Linked DNA regions of Homo sapiens: regions 1, 2, 3 and 4 are each linked to region 5. Evidence: promoter capture Hi-C in 16 types of primary human blood cells and fetal thymus (Javierre and others, 2016). All regions are on one chromosome and are shown on one strand. Each heading gives the region's core, a stretch centred on a gene start or on the middle of the fragment in contact. The rest is flanking DNA. Distances are from core to core; before and after follow the strand shown.

Region 1 (2,700 bases), core at 16-2,515, 340 kb after region 5:
AAGATGGGCTGAAACTCTTACTTATAGAAAAGGAGCTGACGTTCAGAGAGGCAAGCAGCCTGCCAAAGCTCCTACAGCTGTAAAATGGCAGAGACAAGATGGGAACCCAGGTCTTCTTAGTTCTTTGCCAGTTATGTTAATGCTAATTTTTAAGAGGCCACTCTTAGCCCCATGTCTTCCTCACATTCAGATTTCTGTTTCTAAGCAGAGGATTAAGATGCACACTGCTCATGTTTCCACTGAGAAACAAACTGTGACAAGGCAAATCAGATGGCACTTGGTCAAATACATGGCTGGTTAGGGGACACAGGTATTAATTATTCTTTTGGGCTTGGACATCAAGTCTATACTTACAGCTAATTTACTTGTCTGTCTTCCCTCTAGACAGCAACTCTAGAAGAAAAAGAACTATGTCTACTTGCTTGCTATTGTCTCTTTGTTGCTTACTTACTGCCTGGGACAGAATAGCAATTAAACAGCAGTTACTAAGCATGTCGATGGAAGGATAGCTAACCCCATCGGTAAGGAGTACTAACCATACACACTGCCTCTGGAATCACTTTCTGATATCTTCCCTTTTGCTTTTCTGGTAGTTTTCCAACTACTCTTTCACATTGCCTTTTCTACTTCTATATTTTGGGCCTTATAATTTCAACCATATCCTATAATTACAAGATCATTTGAACCAACACCAAACGTCCCAATCATTTTCCTTTCCACTACATAACAAGACTCAGACAGCCTACCATTTCTCTTAAGATAATATTTACATCTTTGGTCTGCGTCCAGTACCCAGGTCCATGTGCCTGTGGATGTGTCAGTGCAAATAGCTCTTGCCTTGTCCCTTCTCATTAACATGAATGGCAAAAAGGATTTGAGAGAAGGAATATTGGGTATTCCAGGAAATCTAAGCTCTAAATCTAAGTTCTGCTTGCAGGTCTTTATGTAATGGAAACCTGTTTCGCTTTGAGTTTCTTAGCCACAAAATGGGAATAATATCATGTGTTTTTAGGACATCTCAAAAACTGTTTTTTATACATGAGCAAACAAGGAACGTTAAAATGTTTGTACATTTCATTAAGCTGTTTATTAGTATTTGTAAATATCGCATTCAAAGGCTTGAGGCAAAAGTTACAAACTGGTAACTTGAGGGACCACAATGAGTCAATAGAAGTGTTTTGTTTCTCCAGTGATGTTATTTTTAGAATTTAATCCAGTTACTAAGATGTTTCACATTGGGAGACTTCACATTAAAATTTTGGCTTCCCTTTAAAAATCTCAGGATTAGGCATCCTAAGCCCACTGATATGGTTTGGCTCTGTGTCACTACCCAAATCTCATCTCAAACTGGAATCCCCATGTGTTGAGGGAGGGAGGTGCTTGGATGAAGGGGGCGGCTTCCGCCATGCTGTTCTCATGGTAGTGAGTGAGTTCTCGTGAGATCTGATGGTTTTTAAAGTGGCAGTTTTTTCCTGCACTTGCACTTCTCCCTCCTGCCGCCATGTGAAGAAGCTGCCTGCTTCCCCTTCACTTTCTGCCATGATTGTAAGTTTCCTGAGGCCTCCCCTGCCATGTGGAACTGTGAGTCAATGAAACGTTTTTCTTTTATAAATTACCAGTCTCAGGAATTTCTTTATAGGAGTGTGAAAATGGGCTAATACACCCCCACTGCTGTTTGGCAGGAACTGACCAAAGCTGAGCAATGATCACTTCCAAGTAAAGCCATAAGAGCATTCGAGTTTGCCACAGTCTCCACCACTCCCTATTTTATCACATGTAATCTGATATAGTTTAGATGTCCCGTCCAAATCTCATGTTGGAGGTGGGGCCCACGTTGGAGGTGGGGCCTGGTGGTAGGTGTTTGAGTGTTTGGGTCATGGGGGCACATCCCTCATGGCTTGGTGCTGTCCTCACAATAGTGAGTTCTTGTGAGATCTGGTTATGCAAGTGTGTGGCACCTCCCTATCACTCCCTCTTTTGCTCTTGCTATGTGATGTGTCTGCTCCCACTTTGCCCTCTGCCATGATTGAAAGCCACCTGAGGCCACCCCAGAAGCTGTGCAGATGCCAGCACCATACTTCCTGTACAGTCTGCAGAACCATAAGTCAATTAAACCTCTTTTCTTTATCAATTACCCAATCTCAGGTATTTCTTTATATCGATGCCAAAACAGCCCAACACATAATCTTTGCCATAGTCCCTACTACTTCCTGTTTTATTACAGCCAGTCTGCTGGACTCACTTAAGTTACTGTCTGGTTCCCAGAGGCATTTGAATTTGACTACCCCTGTTTTAAAGAAGTATTACAGAGCATATAGTTGATTTATCAGTCTGCAGCTATCAGATTGATCCTGTTCACAAATAGTTCTAAAGAAGAAAATCCATAGTATTTTGCAAGCCATTCAAACACTAAACCTTTCTCTTCTATCCAGAAAATTTTCCCCTCACTATAAATAGGCCAATAAGAGCAATGTAGGCTTAGAACTAAATGGCATCTTATAGCTCATCTGGTCCAACCACCTTATATAACATTTGAGAAAACTACAGGCCTAGATTGTGAAGATGCCCAATAGCTAACAGGGACGAGAACCAGCTTCCCACTGGAAAGCTTCCTGGAACTTCTCATTCTTTCCAAATTAGGCATAGAAAATAGCTGCTTATTTTACTTTGTGAAAGCATTTTAGGCTTGGACTCAAGGGC
Region 2 (2,700 bases), core at 41-2,540, 360 kb after region 5:
AGCTCCATAAAATGCAAATAAGTTTCAATATTCACTTAGGAAAATAAAAATGAGCAGTAAGTCAGCTAGGAGCAAAAGGAACGGGACATTCAAAGGCTGTGCCCAATGTCAGACAGAAGTAGCTTTGTAATTCTCCCAGTGTAGGGCTGCAGGCACCTGGCGCTGGAGACCCGGCCTGGACGAGGCAGGGCTCAGGGCGCGGCTGGAGGGGCTCGCCCGGCGGGGCGCTGGAGCGGGAGAAGGGCGCCCTCTGCCGGGGGTGAGGAAGATCAGTCCGCACGCGCGGTGCCTTGGTCTTGCAGCCTGTTCGAACCTCGCGCGAGGACATCCACTTCTTCCACGGGGAAAGTAGGAGGGTGGGGGCAGAAAAACCAAACTCCTGCCAAGAAGGTGCTTTGCACGAGCATTTTGCGACCCCATCCCTTCAGCCCCGAACCTCCCCCTGGCATAAGTGAAAGGACTGTAGTCAATTGCAGATGCTGTCAGGAAGCCAGGTGCGTCCTCACTCCCCAGCCCTAAAATCCAAAGAAAGAAGAGATTGTTTGAGACGATCTGAAGAAAGGTCAGGTCCTAACAGATCCACGGGACCTTCTTTTTCACCTTCCTTGTCTTGGGTTCTGGAGCACGGGCGCTGAATCAGCTGAATGCGGCCTGGGCATCTGGAAGTGGTCCTGAGGGACACCTCGCGGTGCAGCCCCCGGGACGACCCAGGACACCCTGGACACCCTGGACACCCAGGCCGAGAGCCGGGACCCGCCCACGCCTCCTCACTGCTGCTCGAGGGTAGGCAGGAGCACGCGGACCCCGTGGGGGCTGAAGCGGGGCTCTGCTGCCCGCCCTGCGCAAGCTCCCGGCTCTGGTTGCTGGTCCACAAAATCGGGAGGCTGAATTAGCCGGTCGGGTGGCCCCCAGCCTTATAGCTTCGAATTCTGTGATCCTATTTTAGACCCAGACTTGTCCGCGAAGGGAAATGAAGAGGCGCGGAAGGCTTGGAGCGTGAACCAAAAAACAATGGGTGGGGATCGTCTAACCAGCTCCCTTCCCTAGAAGGGCGGAAACGGCTTTCGAAGCATCCGCGATTCTCTTTATTGAATCTTGAGTGACACCTAGTGGCCCATCCGCCTCACCGTCACGGCGATGCTGGTTTCACTGGGCTTTTCAGAAGGCGTGCTGGCCTGCCCATGGTTCTCGGCTAAAAGACTTTGGAGCGTAGGGTGCCGATGAAGTTTCCTGGGACCTTCCGGAAGCACTTGCTGTCCCGTCAACAGCCCTGTACCTGCGATGCATGCAATTCTAATGAAAATGCCCTTCTCGTCTGGAGGGCTTGCTTGAGCACATCCTGAGCTCTCAGGCAGCAAATATAGAGTCGGGTGCTATTCCGGGAGCTGGGCACACAAAGATGACCAACGCTTGGTTTCTGATCTCAAGAATCTCACAGCCCAGCTGGGGGGAAATGGACCAGTAGAAGAGTGTGTATTTGATGCTGTGGGGTAGAGGGGGTGGACCTAGCTCGGCCTAGAGACATCAAGAAAGTCACCCTTGAGCTGAGTTTTGAAGATTAGGCAGAATTCTAAGATGACCCCTGAAGATTCTCAGCCCATCCCCCTCGCAGTGTACACACACCTTTGCCCAGTTATTCAATCAAACAATTTAGGTGCTTCTGTGAAGAGAATTTGCAGATGTAATTAAAGTTCCCAAATTAATTGATCTTAAGATCTGGAGATGATCCTGGGTAGGCCTAACCTAGCCAGGTGAACCTTTGAAAGGGACTGGATTGTCCTGGCAGAAGAGATTTGACAAGCGGCAAGAACTCATCATTGGCAAGATTTTCTTTGCTGGCTTTACAGATGAAAGGGGCCACGTGGCAAGGAATGCAGGCTGACTCTAGGAGCTCAGAACGACCCCTGCCTGACAGCCAGCAGAGAAACCAGCCTTCAATCCTACCACTGCAAGAGCACTGAACTCTGCCAATAAGCAGGGAGTTTGGAAGGGATCCCCAAGCTGTATGAGACTTAGTCCCAGCTGACACCTTGATTTTATCTCTGTAGGACCCTGAAGAGAGGACCCAGTCATGCTGCATTCAGGCTTCTGACCTCCAGAACTATGAACTAATAAATGGGTGTTTTAAGCTGTTATGTTTGCAATGTGTTATGAAGTCATAGGAAACTGATACAGATGGTCATTTCAAAGAGGGGAACCACATGACAAATGCTCAGAGCCATAAAGAAGCAGAGAACTAAAGTCATTCAGAGAACTAAAGACATTCGGCATAGCTGGACCATGGGGAGCAAAGGAGACGGTAAGATGTACTCACGAGAACTTGGCTTTGGATCAGAGAGAATGTGCCCTTGGGCTAGTTAACTTAGCTCTCTGTGCCTCAGTTTTCCCAAAGGTAAAATGGAATCATAATTATAGTTAAAACATAGAGTTGTTATGTTAGTGGCCCATAGGCATATAGAAAGTTCAACACAGCCTTGGGATATAATAAGTGTTCCAAAAATGTTAGGTAGTAATAGCTTTAGTAATTAATCATGTAGTTAATGGACTGGAATAAGAAGAGGACAAGTCATGTGGTTTTTACAGAGTGGTCTGGGGACCATCTGCACTGGATGATTCCAGCGGTGAGCTTATTAAAAACCCACATGCCTGGATTGTACCTTGGTCTTACCAAATCAGACTCTCTGGGGGTAGAGCCTGAGA
Region 3 (2,700 bases), core at 145-2,644, 380 kb after region 5:
TTGAGACAGGGTCTCACTCTGTCGCCCAGCCTGGAGTGCAGTGGTTCACTGCAACTTCCACCTCCTGGGTTCAAGCAGTCCTCCCACCTCAGCCTCTTGAGTAGCTGGGACTACAGGCGTGGACCACCATGCCCACCCTTTTTTTTTTTTTTTTTTTCCTTGGTGGAGACAGGGTTTCATCATCTTGCCCAGGCTGGTGTCGAACTCCTGGGCTCAAGTGATCCTCCTGCCTCAGCCTCCCAAAGTGCTGGTCTCATAGGCATGAGCCACCACGCCTAGCCCTCATGGCACTTTAAAGAAAATACACATTCCAGGCTGGGTGCGGTGGCTCACGCCTGTAATCCCAGCACTTTGGGAGGCCCAGGCAGGTGATCACTTGAGGTTAGGAGTTACAGACCAGCCTGGCCAACATGGTGAAACCCCGTCTCTACTAAAAATACAAAAACTAGCCAGTTGTGGTGGTGGGCACCTGTAATCTCAGCTACTTGGGAGGCTAAGGTAGGAGAATTGCTTGAACCTGGGAAGTGGAGGTTGCAATGAATCAAGATCACGCCACTGCACTCCAGCCTGGGCGACAAGAGTGAGACTCCATCTCAAAAAAAAAAAGAAAGAAAGAAAAATACACATTCCAGGTTCTATCTCTTGAGGAGCTGGGATTGAGCCTGGGCATCCACATTTTTCAAAGTTCCCCCACATGATCTCAGTGCTAAAAACTGAGACTCATGGAATGTTGGACCAAAGAATCAAGAGACCCATATTCTGGTTCCTGACTTTCCTACACACTGGCCTCTCTGAGCCTGTTTCCCATTCTGTAAAATGGAGAGATAGGAGCCCTGTCCTACTTTTGTGAGTTTAAAGCATAAGAACTTGTGTGAAAGAATTTTGACAAGGAACTTTTGTATTTATGGTGGGAGGGATCTGGTGACCAGCAGTCAGACACCACCTGCAAACAGGCCTGCGATCTGGTCACTTGGTGACATTTCCACTGGGTTCTCGTGGTCTGCTTGCCTCCATCACACTATGCTAAAAATGGGTAGAGAGTGGGTGGAGCTCAGAATACTTTAACTCCAGTGTAATAGTGTGGGCAGCTTCCACTTAGTTAGGTACTTCTGGACAAATGGAAGCTTGTCTGCATGCAGCTATATTTATTTCCAAAATAACTGGTGAGATACCCCCACGAATTTGAGAACATTCATTTCTGTTTTACCTGTTTTGAGACCTTTAGACCATGAGATTAGAACGCCCCAGGCATGATCAGGAGGCAGAAGTACACAGGTCGTCTATTCCCAACCTCAGAGCTGATGCTCAGGGTAAATCCACAGCCATTCGATGTAGGGACGTTTTAATTTGGGAAATCAAATGCAGGAAAGATATTACCTTACTGTTCATTTCAAGCATCTCACACACACCATTAAATGCCCCAAACTAGGCTACTATTGAACCTTAACCACATACAAATTACGTATTTACCCAAATACTCTAACATGCTAACAATCCTTTCTTTTGAAACTTCCTGGTTTAACCGATCTGACAAACAGATCCTTCATTTCTGTTCGCTCTATTTTATTCATTCAGTGTATCACAAGTTGACCATAGCAAGACGAGAAATGCATTAAGGATCATGATTTTGCAAAGCATTAATAAGGATACTGGGACAAGGAAGTTAAGCTTTTGATGGCCTTGATACAACTATTTCAAACTTCTCTATTTCAAACTGACTTCTGCACAAGGGCACCACATCTAAAGGACCATCATTGATAGTAAACACAGTTAGTTTGTATATTTATTATGATAGTTTTCTGGCAGATGATAGTCATGTGTCTTATTCTAATAAATCAGCCCATGACAACAATTTTCCAACAGAAGTAAGCCAAGTGTCTTGAAGAAGGGGTGGGAGTGTGCCTTTTGTAATTCACACACAGGGGCAGTTTGGGCTACATGCAACCCAGAAAGGATTGTTAGCATGTTGGGGTATTTGGGTAAATATGTCATTTGTATGTGGTTAAGGTTCAATAGTAGCCTGGTTTGGGGCATTTAATGGTGTGTGTGAGATGCTTGAAATGAACAGTAAGGTAATATCTTTCCTGCATTTGATTTCCCAAATTAAAATGTCCCTACATCAAATGGCTGTGGATTTACCCTGTCCACTGATCTCTTCCCTGGTCATCCCTGATCTGGGGACAAGTCTTCTGTCAAAAAGGGGCTGAGTGAGCAGCAGCTGGGCTTTCCCTCTCCGCCCTCTCCAGAGCAGGCTCCTTGTGGTCTGCCAGCCACAACATAAAAGTGGAAGTAGTAGTCTGGCTTCTTCTTGGTCAGTTTAAGGTGAGGAGTTTTGTGGGGTTTTTTTGTTTTTTGTTTTTTGTTTTTTGTTTTTTTTGAGTTTTTTTTTTTTTTTTGGAGGTGGAGTCTCACTCTGTCGCCCAGGCTGGAGTGCAGTGGCGCGATCTCGGCTCACTGCATCCTCCACCTCCCGGGTTCAAGCGATTCTCATGCCTCAGCCTCAGGAGTAGCTGGGATTACAGACACCTACCTCCACACCTGGCTAATTTTTATATTTTTAGTAGAGATGTGATTTCACCATGTTGGCCAGGCTGGTCTCGAACTTCTGACCTCAAGTGATCCACCCGCCTCGGCCTCCCAAAGTGCTGGGATTACAGGCATGAGCCACCACGCCCAGCCAGAGCTATTTTTTTTTCTACA
Region 4 (2,700 bases), core at 132-2,631, 310 kb after region 5:
GATATGAAAATAAGGCCAAAAGGGTTTTTTTCCCCTTAAGATTATAAAGTAAATTAGTAGCTGAGTTAAAAAAAAAGAAAGAAAGAAAGAAAAAAGAACATTGGCATTGGAAACTGAAGACTCCACTTTACAAGTCAAACCGCCCTTGAAAAGCCAGTTAATATATCTAGCCTCAGTTTTCTCATTTGTAAAATATCGATAAGGCAGCCTACTTCACAAAACAATTTTGAGGCCTGCATGAAATCAGGTAGGCAAGAGGCCAGCACAGTGCCCAGTCCACAGTAAGCGCTCAGGAAAGGACAGCTTCACTTGAATCCCAGGCTAGTGTTCTTCATTTCCACCATGTTCTCACAGTGAGTGAACCCCTTCACAACATGATACATTACTCTCAACAGATCACTTTTGCACGGGCATGTTTTTGCACTCAGTTTCCTTTATTTTTTTCCTTTTTTTTTTTGAGATGGAGTCTCCCTCTGTCGCCCAGGCTGGAGTGCAGTGGCACGATCTCGGCTCACTACAAGCTCTGCCTCCCGGGTTCACGCCATTCTCCTGCCACAGTCTGCTGAGTAGCTGGTACTACAGGTGCCCACCACCACGCCCGGCTAATTTTTTGCATTTTTTAGTAGAGACGGGGTTTCACCATGTTAGCCAGGATGGTCTTGATCTCCTGACCTCATGATCTGCCCACCTCGGCCTCCCAAAGTGCTGGGATTACAGGCGTGAGCCACGGCACCTGGCCTGCACTCAGTTTCTTATGGCAGGACTACGGGAGACTCATCAAACAATACATGAGTAGAGTCCTGTCTCAGTTCGTTTCTGCTGCTATAACACAATATCCAAGACTGGGTAATTTGCAAAGAACAGAGATTTATTTTCTCACAGTCCTGGAGGCTGGGAAATCCAAGATCAAGGCACCAACACATTCAGTGTCTGCTAAGGGCTACTCTCTGCTTTCAGATGGTGCCTTATTGCTATGTCCTCGTATGGCAGAAGGCAGGACAAAAGGGATCTAGTTAGTTCCCTTGAGCTCTTTTATAAGAGTACTCATCCCATTCGTAACAGGCAGAGCCTTCATGACTTACTCATCTCCTAAAGGCCCCACCTCTTAATGTTATCACATTGGCAGTTAAGTTTCAACATATGAATTTGTTGGGGGGAGGGGAGAGGGAACACATTCAGACCACGGCAGGTCCTAACAACTTATTTGTGAATTCCTGGTTCAGAGCTCAGTGTGCAGCCCACTGTATCAAGTCCTAGACCAGCCAACGAAAGCTGCGTTGAACCTATCCTGCAGCAGAAACACTGGTGAAGAAGCCTGGAGAAACAGAGGCCTGCAGTACCCAGTAACTAACCAGGTAGAAAAGCAGCCATCTGGTGTGTCAGGACTGGGGTGAGTGGGGTGACAGAGAGTTGTGAAGGGAAAGTGGAAGTGGAGGCAGGTGACTACACCTTCAGCTGACCTGAAGTCAGCTGACGTGACTTCAGCTGATGTGATGAAATCCAGCTGGTTTCCCAGGCTGGGATGCCTTTTGCTTTCCACAATAGGAATGGCCAGTAGCTGCCAGCCCGTGGTGGAAAGAAGCAACTGGAGATTGCAAACTCTCCTCTGCTCTCTCAACAGGCAATAGGATATTGGGGTTGCCACTGCAGGTTCTAGGGTCACAAAAACACAGGTTCAAATTCTACCTCTGCCCCTTACCAACTGTGCTACATTGAACATATAACCTGAATTTCTCCCTGCCTTGGTTTCCTCCTCTATGAAATGGGAATAACAACATAGCACTGAGTTATCGAGGTTCAAAAGAAATAATACCTGGGAGGCTCCCTGCATAGTTTTTGGCATAAACCTGGCTTCAATGAGATTAGCAATTGATATCAATTTACACAGTTCTAAATAGAGAAATTTTTCAAAGTAAAAGACTGAGAGATAGGGATACACAAAGGCACACAAAGACAGGTAATTTTGCTTTCTCTGCTTGCCTTTTTGCACTTTGCAAGCAAGAAGGCAGGCAAGATTCGGCTTGTGCTCAGCTTTTATGGCCGCCTCATTTCAAAACAACCTCAGGCTACAGAGATGGAACCTGCAGCTTTCTCAGAAACCAAACTTTTCTGTTTCAGGCTGCACGAATGGAGCATGAGAACACCCTACAGCCTGTTATTTGCTGCATGTTTCTACGGGCACCAGCAAAGCACAACTTCTAGTAATGGGATCAGTAACCCAAGTGACGGAACTGAAAAGGCAAGTCTGAATTTATCTCCATCTGTCATGTTCCAGTGAACAATGAAAGCACAGTAAAGGGAAACGCTGCTTCTTGCATGTTTGTGCCAGTCCTTCCCTGCTAGGTACTATTATTAGCAGCATTAATAAATGCCTCTGACTTGCAGTAAAGGTTCAGAATGCTGGAGAGTTACAGGGCATGCCAAACACATAAACTGCCTGCCCTCAGGGCTGATGGGCACGAAGGCTATAAGATGAAGCCCAAATGGCAGAAACATTCTGACCAGGGAGGAGTGATTGCAGGTGAGGTAGGGAGATTTTTTTTCCAGGGCTGTGCTGGAAATGAAAGAGACAAGCCTTCGCGCCCACTATTTGGCTGCTCATCCTATTCTATTCTTGGGAAATCATTGGAGAGATGAGAGAAGACAAGTGACAGTCCACTTTGAATGTCACCTCTACCATCCTGGAGCCTTGGGAGAAAG
Region 5 (2,700 bases), core at 132-2,631:
AACGTCAACTAGCCCCAACTTTTCCTCTAGTTATTTCTTTTATTAGATTTATTCTGTTCTCCACAATAAAATCTATCTTCTGTTCCCATCCATGACAATTCAAGTAGTTATAATGGGTGGATATAGGGTATGATAAATGTTGGTAAATCCACTGAGTTCCTTGAGTTCCACATTGATGTCTTTTAGGATGTGACTAGGGGTAGGCTAAATATTTTCTAGTTTCTCAGATCCTACCCCTGGTCTAATTATGATATAGAGGCCAGATTAGTGTCACCAGTTTTTCTTTCTCTTCTGAATGTAGAGCAAGAGCAAATGATTGCAGATAACAGCATGAGAAACTTAGGATCAACCACCAGCATCTAAGTGAGTCTTGTACTAGGCTCATTCCAGTTAAAAGCTGTAAATCATTTCATAGCCACATCAGTTTAGTTCTCTTTTATAGAACTCATTATGTGATACAAAATATGCAAGGCACTGGAGATACAAATACAATTATTTCCTCAAGGAACTTTGAGTTGAGCAAACATGGTACTGTCTGGTGAGACCAGACATATGAGCAAACATAGTACTTCTCTGGTGAGACCACATAGAGAAATGTACAAGGGGTAGAGGAGGCAGTGATGACTACTGGTCTGGGATAGTTGAGGGAAGGTGGCATAGGCTGCCTATTGAAGAATAAATTAGAGTTTGCTATGTGAACAAGGTTGCAGAGGGAATAGTATATGGAAAAACAGGGAGATGTGGACCCATATATTTTGTGCAGAGATGTCCAAGTACTTAGATATTACTATATTGCAAGTATGAAGAAAGCTTTTTTTGAGATCTGACAATGCCAAGGTAGGTTATGGACTCTCTTTGGAGTCCCCAAAATAAAAATAAAACATTCACATCTGCTAAAGATAGCTTGAATGGTATTTTTGCTAAAGGCAGAGTCATATACTGTATGTGCCAGATAAAAGTCAATGTCTATTATGTAAACATTGAGATTACATTAATTAATTTAAAAGAAAGGATTCAAACTTAGTACTAATCTGCATCTGGAGAACTAATCTGGTATGTGTTATTTTCAAGTCACCCAACTAAAGCAGTCTGTTGTATGGAACTCTGCTCCCTCTTAGTCAAACAAATGCAACCATAAAAAGCAGTGCAAATTCAGTGTCACCTTTTCTCCATGGGATTGGGTGGTTTCTTTTGGAGCAGAGAGAGTTTCCAGAGAATCAATATAGTAGCCAGAAGAAAAGTGGAGGGTGGCCTTACCTTGTCCACTCCGTGCTGCCTGAGGGTGAAATGGAACCTCGGATGTTGTACACCTTTAAATTGTCCATGTTGCCTGTTTCATAGCCTTCCCGGGCCAGGGAGCTGTGTAGTCAGTTTATAGTTCTAAGAACCAGAGCAGGACTGCTGTGCTTGTAATTGCATGCTTTTTATGGAACAGGCAATGTTGTTTAGGGAATTTGGGCAGCTGGAACCTGCCACATTAGCAATTTGGACTGAGGAAGAATTTCAGGGTGATAAAATAAAGCTCATTATATAAATTCACTTGGGTATTTAGGAGGCTGAGAAGGGAGAGGATGAGAGTATTCCAAAGGCAAGCAGGAGAGTTTCATAAACAGGTCCCTTTCTATTCGTTTTTACTGTAAGTGTTGAATTGAGCTAGGAGGATCACATGGCCCATTTTGCAAAGGGCAGTCATGTTCTGCTGTTTCTTAGCTGTTTTGTCAGTTGGAACAAAACAACAGCGCTGCTCATTTTTTGCAGGGTTAGAGGAAAAAGGAAGGACTGGCCGAAGAATGGGGTGGGGAGCTGGAGAAGAGAAGGGCCAAAAGTGTCAGACTGTGGGGATGAGGACCTGAAGGAGGCCCATGAGACCTCAGGCATGGGCCCTGGAACTCTGCCTTTTTGAAGCCTGTTGACAATCTCACCCTAATTTAACCCTTTGTGGAATTCTTCCATGAGATGCAGTTGCCATCATCAGGCTTCCTAGAGAATTGAGCCTGCCCACTCTGTTATGAAGTCTACCCAGAAGAGCTGGCAGAGTAGGCCCCTTCACTGGGACTGCAGCAACACTGACCAAAGCAAATCCTTCTCTTGGAAGAAACAAACTCATTCCTCACACCTGCCTCACCCCGCTCCCACCGCCACCCCCTGCACCACACGCCAGCCCTTAATAAAAACTAAAACTGATGTCATTGTAACCTTTGGTTATTCTTTTTTGTGCGTAAAGTGTCAACCTCCTGTTTTATTCTCATAAATAATGGAAATCTTAACTTCATTTCAGAAAATCACAAAAGATAACAGGGACCCTATTCAAACAGAATAAAAATAATTAGTAAGTCACAAACTCTGACTAGAAAGAAAAAGAGAAGAGAGAGAGGGAAGGAGAAAGAAAGAAGGAAAGAGAGGGAGAGAGAGAAACGAGGAAAGGAAGGAAGGAAGAAAGTGAAAGAAGAAAGTCCTCTTGTTGGTGTTAAAATGTGTCTTTAAGGGGAAACTTATCATTTAGGTTACTAATGGTTTCTTTCTTCATCATTTTAATTTCCATTAATAAAATGTGACTTTGAAAGGATGCAGGGAGTTTGGGAATAGAGAGTTTTATTTTTATTTGTTTATTTTTTTTCCCCTTCTCCCAGCAAAATACACAGGTATCTGACTATGTAGAGACACGAAGCCACCTATCCTGACCAAACTTGGCAGTGGTCA

Evidence for each region. The method cuts DNA at HindIII sites, captures the fragments that hold promoters and counts their contacts. A CHiCAGO score of 5 or more calls a contact.
Region 1: a contact is called between a fragment that was not itself captured here and the fragment with the promoter of CRADD-AS1 in region 5, in 7 of 17 cell types (fetal thymus, M0 macrophages, activated CD4 T cells and 4 more). The highest score is 7.9, in fetal thymus.
Region 2: a fragment that was not itself captured here is called in contact with the fragment with the promoter of CRADD-AS1 in region 5 in 14 of 17 cell types (megakaryocytes, activated CD4 T cells, erythroblasts and 11 more); the score reaches 12.5 in megakaryocytes.
Region 3: a fragment that was not itself captured here is called in contact with the fragment with the promoter of CRADD-AS1 in region 5 in 1 of 17 cell types (activated CD4 T cells); the score reaches 5.6 in activated CD4 T cells.
Region 4: a contact is called between a fragment that was not itself captured here and the fragment with the promoter of CRADD-AS1 in region 5, in 1 of 17 cell types (fetal thymus). The highest score is 5.6, in fetal thymus.

What each region holds. Positions count from the first base shown.
Region 1 is chr12:94,081,463-94,084,162 of GRCh38, forward strand. No RefSeq gene overlaps it. Among named protein-coding and RNA genes, the nearest start is that of PLXNC1, 66 kb to the right of the region's middle. The HindIII fragment of the contact is 2,681 bases long and covers 1-2,606 here.
Region 2 is chr12:94,101,318-94,104,017 of GRCh38, forward strand. It overlaps LOC124902986 (a long non-coding RNA gene), which reads left to right and starts at 296. Exons shown (of 2, transcript XR_007063409.1): 1 at 296-2,299. RefSeq lists enhancers at 1-282, 339-398, 849-1,018. The HindIII fragment of the contact is 2,851 bases long and covers 1-2,700 here.
Region 3 is chr12:94,121,092-94,123,791 of GRCh38, forward strand. The region is part of intron 1 of LOC124902986 (a long non-coding RNA gene); the gene reads left to right. Among named protein-coding and RNA genes, the nearest start is that of PLXNC1, 26 kb to the right of the region's middle. The HindIII fragment of the contact is 544 bases long and covers 1,123-1,666 here.
Region 4 is chr12:94,045,724-94,048,423 of GRCh38, forward strand. LOC105369913 (a long non-coding RNA gene) reads left to right here. Exons shown (of 4, transcript XR_945223.3): 3 at 1,224-1,355; 4 at 2,119-2,315. Among named protein-coding and RNA genes, the nearest start is that of PLXNC1, 100 kb to the right of the region's middle. The HindIII fragment of the contact is 3,707 bases long and covers 1-2,700 here.
Region 5 is chr12:93,736,442-93,739,141 of GRCh38, forward strand. CRADD-AS1 (CRADD antisense RNA 1) reads right to left here and starts at 1,382. Exons shown (of 3, transcript NR_110092.1): 1 at 1,258-1,382. All of the region lies in intron 2 of CRADD (CARD and death domain containing adaptor protein), which reads left to right. The HindIII fragment of the contact is 4,271 bases long and covers 809-2,700 here.